Regions from separate parts of the Homo sapiens genome. Here region 2 is linked to region 1. The links are contacts of gene promoters, found by promoter capture Hi-C in blood cells and fetal thymus (Javierre and others, 2016). All regions are on one chromosome and are shown on one strand. Each heading gives the region's core, a stretch centred on a gene start or on the middle of the fragment in contact. The rest is flanking DNA. Distances are from core to core; before and after follow the strand shown.

Region 1 (4,822 bases), core at 937-3,436:
CTGGTGGGCTGCTTGGTAACGTACATGAATACCTTAGCAAGAAAGAGCACTGAAAAACCAGCCCAACTGTTGACAATAGCTTTTATCTAATTTTCCACTTTCCCCTTATATCTCGGTCACTGAACTTTTTTGACTCAAGGCACTGTAGCAGGACGAGCCGCAGACAAAATCTCTCAGACACCGAGTTGCACAAGGAAGGGCTTTATTCAGCTGGGAGCATCGGCAAGCTACTGCCTTAAAATCCGAGCTCCCCAAATGCACAATTTCTGTCCCTTTAAAGAGCTCACAACACTAAAGATTTTACATGAAAGGGTCGTGATTGATCAGAGCAAGCAGGCGGTATGTGACAGGGGCTACATGCACCGGTGGTCAGAGAGAAACAGAACAGGGCAGTTCTGTTCTTTATACAATGTTCTTCTATACAATGTCTGGAATCTATGAATAACATCGGTTTCTAAGTTATGAGTTGATTTTTAACTACTGGGTTTAGGCCAGGCAGGCCCAGGCCTGGTTTTGGGCCTGGCGCTGGGCTGCCTGTATTTGGTTTTACTTCCTTGTTGTTTTTTCTTAAAACAGGTACTGAGTATAAAACAATATAAAACAATATGAGACGGTCTCTCTATTCCCTCAATACAACATCCACATCCTGCAGTAGGGACCTTTTGCAGAATTCTAGATGGCAGGAAGCTTCTATGAACCTAAGTCCAGATTTTAATTTGCAAGGAAACTGAAGCAGATGAATTTTCTCATTGTAAAAAAATGAATGCCTTGATAATATATTTGTTTTTCATAGTAGGCCTTTGTCATTAAAATTGATGCCTGAGGATATAGTTGCATCTTGTGTGGAACAGTAAGTTATTACTCATTGCATACCAGATTTTAGCATACTTGCATTAGTTCATGGAATATGATTTTACATTTACTATTGCAGTTCCAGTGCCATTATCAGATTGCATTTTCCTACTGAATTACAAACAAAAGTGTTATGCTACTAACAATTAACAAAATTTTAATAAGGTTGTGTTTGATGCTATTACTCAGATAATGTGTTCTAAATTGCTTTCCTTTGAATATATTTGCATTAAAGAGGAACTCAATTTGGTTCTTTGAAGAGTTTATCCACTTTCTGGGTAGCTTTAAAAAGACACAGGGAAATTCAGTTTCTTCTTTGCAAGTAAATAGAGAAGAAACAAATTTGCTAAGATCTGTAGAAGTCATGGCAGCAGACTGCTGATGGTTTGAGTTAATGAAATGACTCATTTTGGCTACTTGAGTTGCACAATTAAAATATACAGTAGAGACTGTATATCACATCATAGATGAGAGATAAATCCCCCAGTGTTCTCTTTTTTTTCCTCAAAGCTAATATATTATGAATTAAGAAATTTAAGAGCTCCACATTATTGCAATTCTTGATCAGTGATGCCCCAAATTAAGTAGTAATCTCTTGAGAGTGCACGTTTGTTTGCAGCATTCCTCTTACCCATTTCTGCTAAAATTGTGGTTGTGACGAAAGCAGTTGTTTTCCAAAAGATAAACCCATGTGACCAAGCTAAAACATTTACCTAATACTGACACGTTTTTTGTGGTCTTCTCATAGTTGTCTAGCTAAAGGAGTTTAATGCAGAGAATATAAATACGGAAATAGTGAAACTGAAGTCCTGCTTGCGCAGAAAGCCTGCAGCCGACTTTGGTTTTTAACAGACTCCACGGGGCATTAGAGAAAGTAACTGGGGGCAGTGGGATGGAGGGTATGAAATTGGGTGGAGGGACGAAAACTAAGAGCCCTCTGGGTCTTTTATGTCCTTCTACATTTTGTGTAGAAATAAATGTTTTTACTTTACTTCCACGGTCGGCCCTTCCTCTTCACCTTTTTTTTTTCTCACACGTTCATCCTCTGAATTCTTTCCGTTTACAAATGCTCCCGATTTAGAAACTCATAATACTGTCTGTAAAACTTGCCTGAGCCTGTGTGGTCTGAATTTAGCGACACACTTGTTTAGGAGTTTCGGTTCTCGCTCTCTGTTTGCATGGTTTGGTAACAACACTTCACTATACTAAAAATCATCGCCCGGACCTGCAGGGCTGCACGGAAAACGCTGTTCCTTTTGGTACCCGCCGCAGCCGCGCAGGCGCACCGCCCAGCCGCCCTGACGCAAGGCGCAGGCTTCATGACGCAGCACGCAGTCTCAGCCGACACTGCGCGCGCCTCCAGGCACCGGCGTTAGCGGGTCGCCGACCCGCAATCCCCGCCGCGGCTGCTTGCCTACCGGAGTGTGCGCCGGCACCTGCCGCCGGAGACATGTTGCAAAAACCGAGGAACCGGGGCCGCTCTGGCGGCCAGGCCGAGAGGGACAGAGACTGGAGCCATAGCGGAAACCCCGGGGCTTCGCGGGCCGGGGAAGACGCCCGGGTTCTCAGAGACGGCTTTGCCGAGGAGGCCCCGAGCACGTCCCGCGGGCCGGGCGGCTCGCAGGGGTCGCAGGGCCCCTCGCCTCAGGGCGCCCGCCGGGCCCAGGCCGCCCCCGCCGTGGGGCCCAGGAGCCAGAAGCAGCTGGAGCTGAAAGTGTCCGAGCTGGTGCAGTTCTTGCTGATTAAAGACCAGAAGAAGATTCCGATCAAGCGGGCCGACATACTGAAGCACGTCATCGGGGACTACAAGGACATCTTCCCCGACCTCTTCAAACGGGCCGCCGAGCGCCTCCAGTACGTCTTCGGGTATAAGCTGGTGGAACTTGAACCCAAGAGCAACACTTACATCCTCATCAACACCCTGGAGCCTGTGGAGGAGGATGCCGAGATGAGGGGTGACCAAGGCACGCCCACTACGGGCCTCCTGATGATCGTCTTAGGGCTCATCTTTATGAAGGGCAACACCATCAAGGAAACTGAAGCCTGGGACTTTCTGCGGCGCTTAGGGGTCTACCCCACCAAGAAGCATTTAATTTTCGGAGATCCAAAGAAACTCATTACTGAGGACTTTGTGCGACAGCGTTACCTGGAATACCGGCGGATACCCCACACCGACCCCGTCGACTACGAATTCCAGTGGGGCCCGCGAACCAACCTGGAAACCAGCAAGATGAAAGTTCTTAAGTTTGTGGCCAAGGTCCATAATCAAGACCCCAAGGACTGGCCAGCGCAGTACTGTGAGGCTTTGGCAGATGAGGAGAACAGGGCCAGACCTCAGCCTAGTGGCCCAGCTCCATCCTCTTGAAAGGTGGATTCAGAGGGACCCCCGGGACAAGGGTCTGAGACCCAAAGGCACAGTTTAGAGGATTGGGGGAAGGGAGAACGAACCCAGGGAGCATATTGCTGTAAACGCTTCAATGTGTGTAGCTTTAGGATGTGTTTGCAAAGTTTTGTTTTTTTAATGTTGTGTTATTTTGCTCCAGATTTTCATCTATAAACAAAGGAGCATTTGTTTTGATTTTACTCTTTTTGGTATAAAAAATTTTGCTAGCTTAGTAAAACGAATTGGAAAACTTGACTATGATCTGGAACAGATAATGCAAGAAGGAACACATAAGTAAGTTGCTTTGGTGCCAAGAAAATAAAAAAGCTATTATCAGGTCTCCTAACTACCCCAGTTTGTAAGGAAAAATAAAAGTTTTTATAAAATTAAAAAAAATAATTGCCTATATCCTTATTATGTTAACCTATTTTATTTTTCTATATTTCGTACATATATAAGTATTATTCATGGTTCCAAGCAATGAGTGTAATGTATTTTCTCCCAATAGTAATTGTTTATATTCATAATTATTCAGCTCTGCTGCTAAACACGTAGTTCCACTTCGTTTTTTTCTTCTTGCTACTGTAGTTATTACAATAAATACTGTATTTTTGAAGCACTTAAGCATTGTGTGTTTTTTAAATCGTGGGTCATGAGAGAATTTCATGACTGGAAATCAACATCTTAAAGTTTTTGCTACATATTAAGGTCAATGCTGTTTTGTAGAAGTTGTTTCACTTTTGTGTGAAACAAAATCAGGATCATGAGGTGAAATATATTTCTCACTGTGGATCTCAAAAAGGCTTATAAAACAATAGCGTAACCATTAACCATGCCTGTTTGGGAATCGGACTGTCTGGGTTGAGATCCTGGCCCCACCATAACTAGTATATGAATTTACATAGGTTCCTTAGTTTGTATGCAGATGTTTCTTGACCTGTAAAATGGTTTTAGTCCGTGATGTGGAGAATTTTATTTGTTATTCTTTAATGTTTTTATTTTTTATTCTCCTTGGTCTGGAGCTGCCACTTTTTAAATATAACTTTTCTTTATCTTTTTTTCCAAATCATTCCTAGGAGAGCAATTCCTGGTTCAAAAGATAGTCCTCTAGTCTCACTCTATTGTATGGGGAAATATAACGTGTATGGTGAGTGTGCCCCACATAGAACATAAGAGCAGGACATAAGATCTACCTCCTAGGGAGTTAGGTATAGGGAAAAGGGTATGGGTCTTGGGGCTGTCTGGCAAACTGAATTTGAATTACGGCTCATGCTAACTTGTCAGCATGGTGGTTGTGGGGGTAGGTTTTAAGCTCTCTGAATCTCAATTTATCTGTAAAATGAGAAAAATAATAGCTATATAATAGTTTTATGCACTAAATGAACTAGAAGAGTTCATAGTCCCATTGTGTTCCTCCATTACGTGTAGCAGATGCTGTTTTTAATGCAGAGATTCAACACGTTTTATTCAGTGGGCAAATAAGTTAATTGTTTTAGGGGGAGGTGCTGCAAATTAACCTTGAAATAAGGCAAATATTTTTAACTCGGGGAAAAAAGTGAACTTCATCAACACTGGACGGAATGTCAT
Region 2 (4,823 bases), core at 1,684-4,183, 2.6 Mb before region 1:
CAGTAAATGTATACATTTGAAAAGAAGAAAAATCTAAAATCAACAACCTAAATTGTCACCTTGGATAATAGAGAAAGAAGAGCAATTTAAGCCTAAAACAAGCAGAACAAAGAGGAATAATAAAAATTAGAGAATGAAATTGAAAATAGAAAACAATAGAAAAAAATCAACAAAACAAAGAAAAAGCTGAAAAGATGATTAAAATTAATAAACCTGTCCAGGTTAACCAAGAAAAAAAGACATTGGGCATAGTTTGCCAATATCAAAAAATGAAAGAGGCGTCATCTCTACTAATTTCATAGATGTTAAAAGAATAATAAAGGTTTATGATGAACAACTTTACACCCACAAGTTTGAATATTAGATAAAAAGGACCGATTCCTTGAATGATACAACTACATTTTACAGAAAAGCAAACAGATCACCTAATAGCTCTGTATCCACAAAGAATCAATAATTAATGAAGTCTCAAAAAAATCACCAGATTCAGATGGTTTCACCAGGGAATTTTACCAAACATTTATGGAAGAATTGATATAGGTTCTTTACAATTTCTTACAGAAAATACAAGTAAATATTACTTCTTAACTCATTTTATGAGGCCAGCATTACCGGCATACCAAAATAAATTAAAGACATTACAAAAAAGAAAACTATAGCCAAATATTTCTCATGAACATAGATGCAAAAGTCTTCAACAAAATATTAGCATATTGAATACAATGGTGTATAAAAACAATTATATACCATGCCCAAGTAGAATTTGACCCAAGTATGCAAGACCGGTTCCTTGAAAATCAATTGAAAATCAATGTAACCCATCATATCAACAAGCTAAAGAAAATAAAATCACATGACCGTATCAATAGATGCAGAAAACGAATTTGGCAAAATCCAACATTCATTCATGATAAAAACTCTGCAAACTAGGAATAGAGAGAACTTCCTAATCTTGATAAAGAAGAACTAAAAAAATCCTACTGCTAACATCATATTTAGTGGTAAGAAACTGGATACTTCCCCTAAATTCAGGACAGGACTGTTAAGAGAATGAAAAGACAAGCTTCCACTGGAAGAAAATACCTGCAAAACACGTATCAGATAAAGTACTTCTATCCAAAATACACAAAGAACTCTTAAAACTCAACCATAAGAAAACAACCTTTTTTTTTTAATGGGCAAAAGATGTGAACAAACATCTCACCAAAGAAGATATACAGGTGCATATGAAAAGTTGCTCCACATAATTTTTCAGTAGAAAATTGAAAATTAACAACGATATAGCACTATATGCCTACTAGAATGTCTAAAATTATAGATGATAGACGGATGGATGGATGGATGGACAGATAGATAGATAAAGATAGCCAATATCAAGTGCTGGTGAGGATGAAGGAAAGGGATTCATATTTGCTGACAGTTATAAAAATGCTATAGCCACTCTAGAAAACTGTTTGGTTCTTATAAAGTTAAACAAATTTACCATAAGATCTAGCAATTGCACTCCTAGATATTTAGTCAACTAATTTAAAAAATTTGTCCGTACAAAACGCTGCATGCAAATGTTTATAGAATGTTTATTCACAGTCGCCAAAAACTGGAAACCACGCAAATATTCTCCAGTGGGTGACTAAACAAAATGTGGTACAAATAATGAGACTCCCCTCAACAATAAAAAGGACTATTACTATACACAATAACATGGATGAATCTCCAAGGTATAATGATGAGGGAATAAAGTCAGTTTCAAAATGTTACATATTGCGTAATTCCATGTATACGACACACTCACAAAGACAAAACCGTAGCAATGGAGAACCTATCAGTGGTTACCAAAAGTTAGGGTTGGCGGGGGCGCTGTTATAAAAGGGCAGAACTAGGGAGCTCTTTATTGCGCTAGTGGTTACATGAATCCAAACAAGGGTTCAAGATCACAGGATTATATATCAAATAACCAATTTTACTGAATATCAATTTTAAAAGTCAAATAAATTATTAAACACTATTAAACATATACAATGTTTAAAGTCAAGCAAAAAGTCCTAAACTAAAAGTAAAATAATGATTGTTTAGAAGTACACCAGGATGGTATGGGTCATCTGCAATATAACGTCCTGTTTGGGATAAGGAAGCGTGACTACATCTACAGGGTGACGTGAGAAGGGCCCAGAGCAGCGAGCAGGTCTTGCCATCAGGGAGGGGAACCATCTGAAGGGGTGGCGTGAAAAAGTCTTTAGAGGAAGGCAAAAAATGGGAAAAGGTCAGAGAACCTTTTTGGGAGGTAAAAGGACCAGCTTTGGATTAGGCGTGATGCACAGGCCCCAGCGCAGGGCGTAGAAACTGCAGCCTGGACAGCCTGGGTGGGAGAAAGTTTGGGATGTTTAGGAAGGAAGGGTGCGCCAGCCAGGGGGAAGAAACGAGACAGGTGGCCGCAGATGGCGCGAGTCAGGCAGCAGGAAAAGGCAGGCTGTTTAAGCAGCCTTTTCCTGCAGTCCAGGCGGAGAGCGCAGAAGGAGCACCCCGAGGGGCAAGCATGGGAGAGCCGGAGCGGGCTCGCGGGCGCGCGGGCGCTGTACGTCCCCTCCTCGGCTCGCGGCCGCGAGCACGCGCTCTCCGTGCCCGGCCCCGGAGGGGCGGGGGCGGGGCACAGGCGCGGCGCGCGCACGTCCGCGCGGGGCGGGGGCGGGGCGCGAACGCGACCGGTGACGTCAGAGGAGGGCGCGCGCCCGGAGGCAGCAGGCGGAGCCGGGAGGCGGGCGTTGTGCGCGGCCGCGGGCGGAGCGGAGGGGCGCGAGGGGCGGAGCGGAGCGCGGGAGGAGGCGGGGGAGGAGAGGCCACCGGGACCGCGAGCGGCAGCTGGGGAGGGGGCCGCGGAGCCCGAGCGGGAGCAAAACAGCTGATCTGGTTTTCCTTTAAAGCGAGAGAAAATGGAAGTCGGGTAGCGGCGACTGCGGCGCTGCGGGCTGGCGGAGCGGAGCGGCGCGGCGCGGCAGGTAAGACGGCGCTGGCCGCGGTGCTGCCGGCGGGCGGCGGGGCCGGGCCCGCGGACCAGGCAGGTGCGCTCTCCGGGCGCGGGGCCGGCGCCGTCTCCTTCCCGAGCTCCGTGGCGAGGCAGGTGGGCGTTGAGGCCGGGCGACCGCGGGGCCGGGGCGCGGGGACGCGGGGGGCGCGGGCCCCGGCTGGGCTCGCCGGCGCGTCTGCATTGCGGGCTCCGCTCCGGACCCCGCGGGCTCCCGGGCCACCGGCTCCGGCCCGGCGTGGCGCGCCTCTCTCGGGCAGGGCGCGGCGCTACCGCTGGGTCGGGGCTGCTGCCTCCGCTCAGCCCTTTGGCTGTCCGCACTGGAACGTGATGCCAGGCGTGGGGCGACCGACCCCTCGGTCCGTGCGCGCGCGTCGGGGGTCCCGCGGCTCTTGCAGACGGCCGGGCAGGGCCCGGCCCCGAGCCGCGCGCGAGGCCGCTCGCCGGGCACCGGAGCTGTGACTGCGTGGGTCCCCGCGGCCCGGCGCACCGCCGTCCCGCTCGCTCTGCTGGGTCTCGCTGGACAGCAGGCAAACCATTAAGGCAATTTGGCTGTGAACCCAGAGGCCTTCCCTAGTATCTCCTCACTGGAGGGGAAAAAATTGCATCTGCGGTGCTTTAAGTGCTCCTTTAAATTTGGGAGATGTCAGTGATGTCATCATTAACTAAAACTTTCCTTCATTGGACACAACCGCTCAAGTGTACCCTCCTCCCTCCCGGTGAAGCTATTGCAGCCCTTTGAGAATCTCTGTAATAAAATGGATTTGCCTCTGCTCTGTAAACTCAGCTACCTCACACAAGTGCAAATGACTTTTATTTCTGTCTATTGGCTTGAGAATGTATAGATTTAAGAGTAGCTGAAGGGAAACTTGTGAGACCCCGATCAGGGAAACGCTTCATCCACAGCACAAGGATCCAGGGGAAAGTCATGTATGACATGCACATGGTTACCGCCAGGTGATACCTTTGTAAATGGAAGTGGGCTGTAAGAGGAACAATTTTTAAAAATATGATGAGGCAGATAATGTGTCCAGGAAAAGGTTGACAGCGGGGCCTAAATCTTTACAGGTCTTAATTGCTTCAGGAAAATCTGCAGGTGTCCTTCACCATCCTCCTCCTCCTCCTCCAGGGTGTGCCCGGAGAAGCCTGCCCTGGGCGAAGGCGGGGAGGCAGGTTCACTAGGGTCCTCCCAGCAGCCGTGTGTCCCACCAGCTTCAAAGGCCTCTTCAAGACCCAAAGAGGGTTCACGAGAACAGAGGTAGATCTGCACGGCACACTCAGTTCTGGATAAACATTCCCCACTAAATGGGATCAACACTCCATTATTTTATTGTGAGTGTGCCATTAGTACCAATTCTTATGGGAACAAAACTAAGCAAGTTCCCAAGGCAATCTGAGTATCTACTCAAGCCTATCATATCGAAAGGATATCCAATAAGGGACAAAAGTATTGACATTTTTGTATTTAATAATTAATGACACCTCCTAATTGGTTAAAATAAGCATGCCTTAAATTGTTAGTGTGATTTTATTGGATCTGTAAGGAATTTAATACCATATGCCACTCAAAAGTTGGGACCTGGTTAGGAACTTCAATCTCTTGAACCCTGTATTGGTGTGAAAAGAATGGGAAAACAGTGGTTACTTAGGCCTTTAGTGTTCAGGCTGATAATGGGTGGAAATCGCCGCTTTACGAAGTATTGCCACGTGCGGGTCTCACTTGGGCCTGGATCATAGATGGCAGGTTTTCCCTTAGAAAGTAACTCCTGAGGCCCCCAAGCTTGGTGGAGAAGGAGAGGGGACA

Evidence for each region. The method cuts DNA at HindIII sites, captures the fragments that hold promoters and counts their contacts. A CHiCAGO score of 5 or more calls a contact.
Region 2: a fragment that was not itself captured here is called in contact with the fragment with the promoter of NSMCE3 in region 1 in 2 of 17 cell types (non-activated CD4 T cells and activated CD4 T cells); the score reaches 12.4 in non-activated CD4 T cells.

What each region holds. Positions count from the first base shown.
Region 1 is chr15:29,267,186-29,272,007 of GRCh38, reverse strand. NSMCE3 (NSE3 component of SMC5/6 complex) reads left to right here and starts at 2,186. Exons shown (of 1, transcript NM_138704.4): 1 at 2,186-4,822. The coding sequence starts at 2,303. The coding sequence ends at 3,217. The region is part of intron 2 of ENTREP2 (endosomal transmembrane epsin interactor 2); the gene reads left to right. RefSeq lists enhancers at 1,890-2,389, 2,390-2,891. The HindIII fragment of the contact is 8,019 bases long and covers 690-4,822 here.
Region 2 is chr15:31,868,677-31,873,499 of GRCh38, reverse strand. OTUD7A (OTU deubiquitinase 7A) reads left to right here and starts at 2,827. Exons shown (of 13, transcript NM_001382637.1): 1 at 2,827-2,993. RefSeq lists a silencer at 2,795-2,864. The HindIII fragment of the contact is 3,736 bases long and covers 1,066-4,801 here.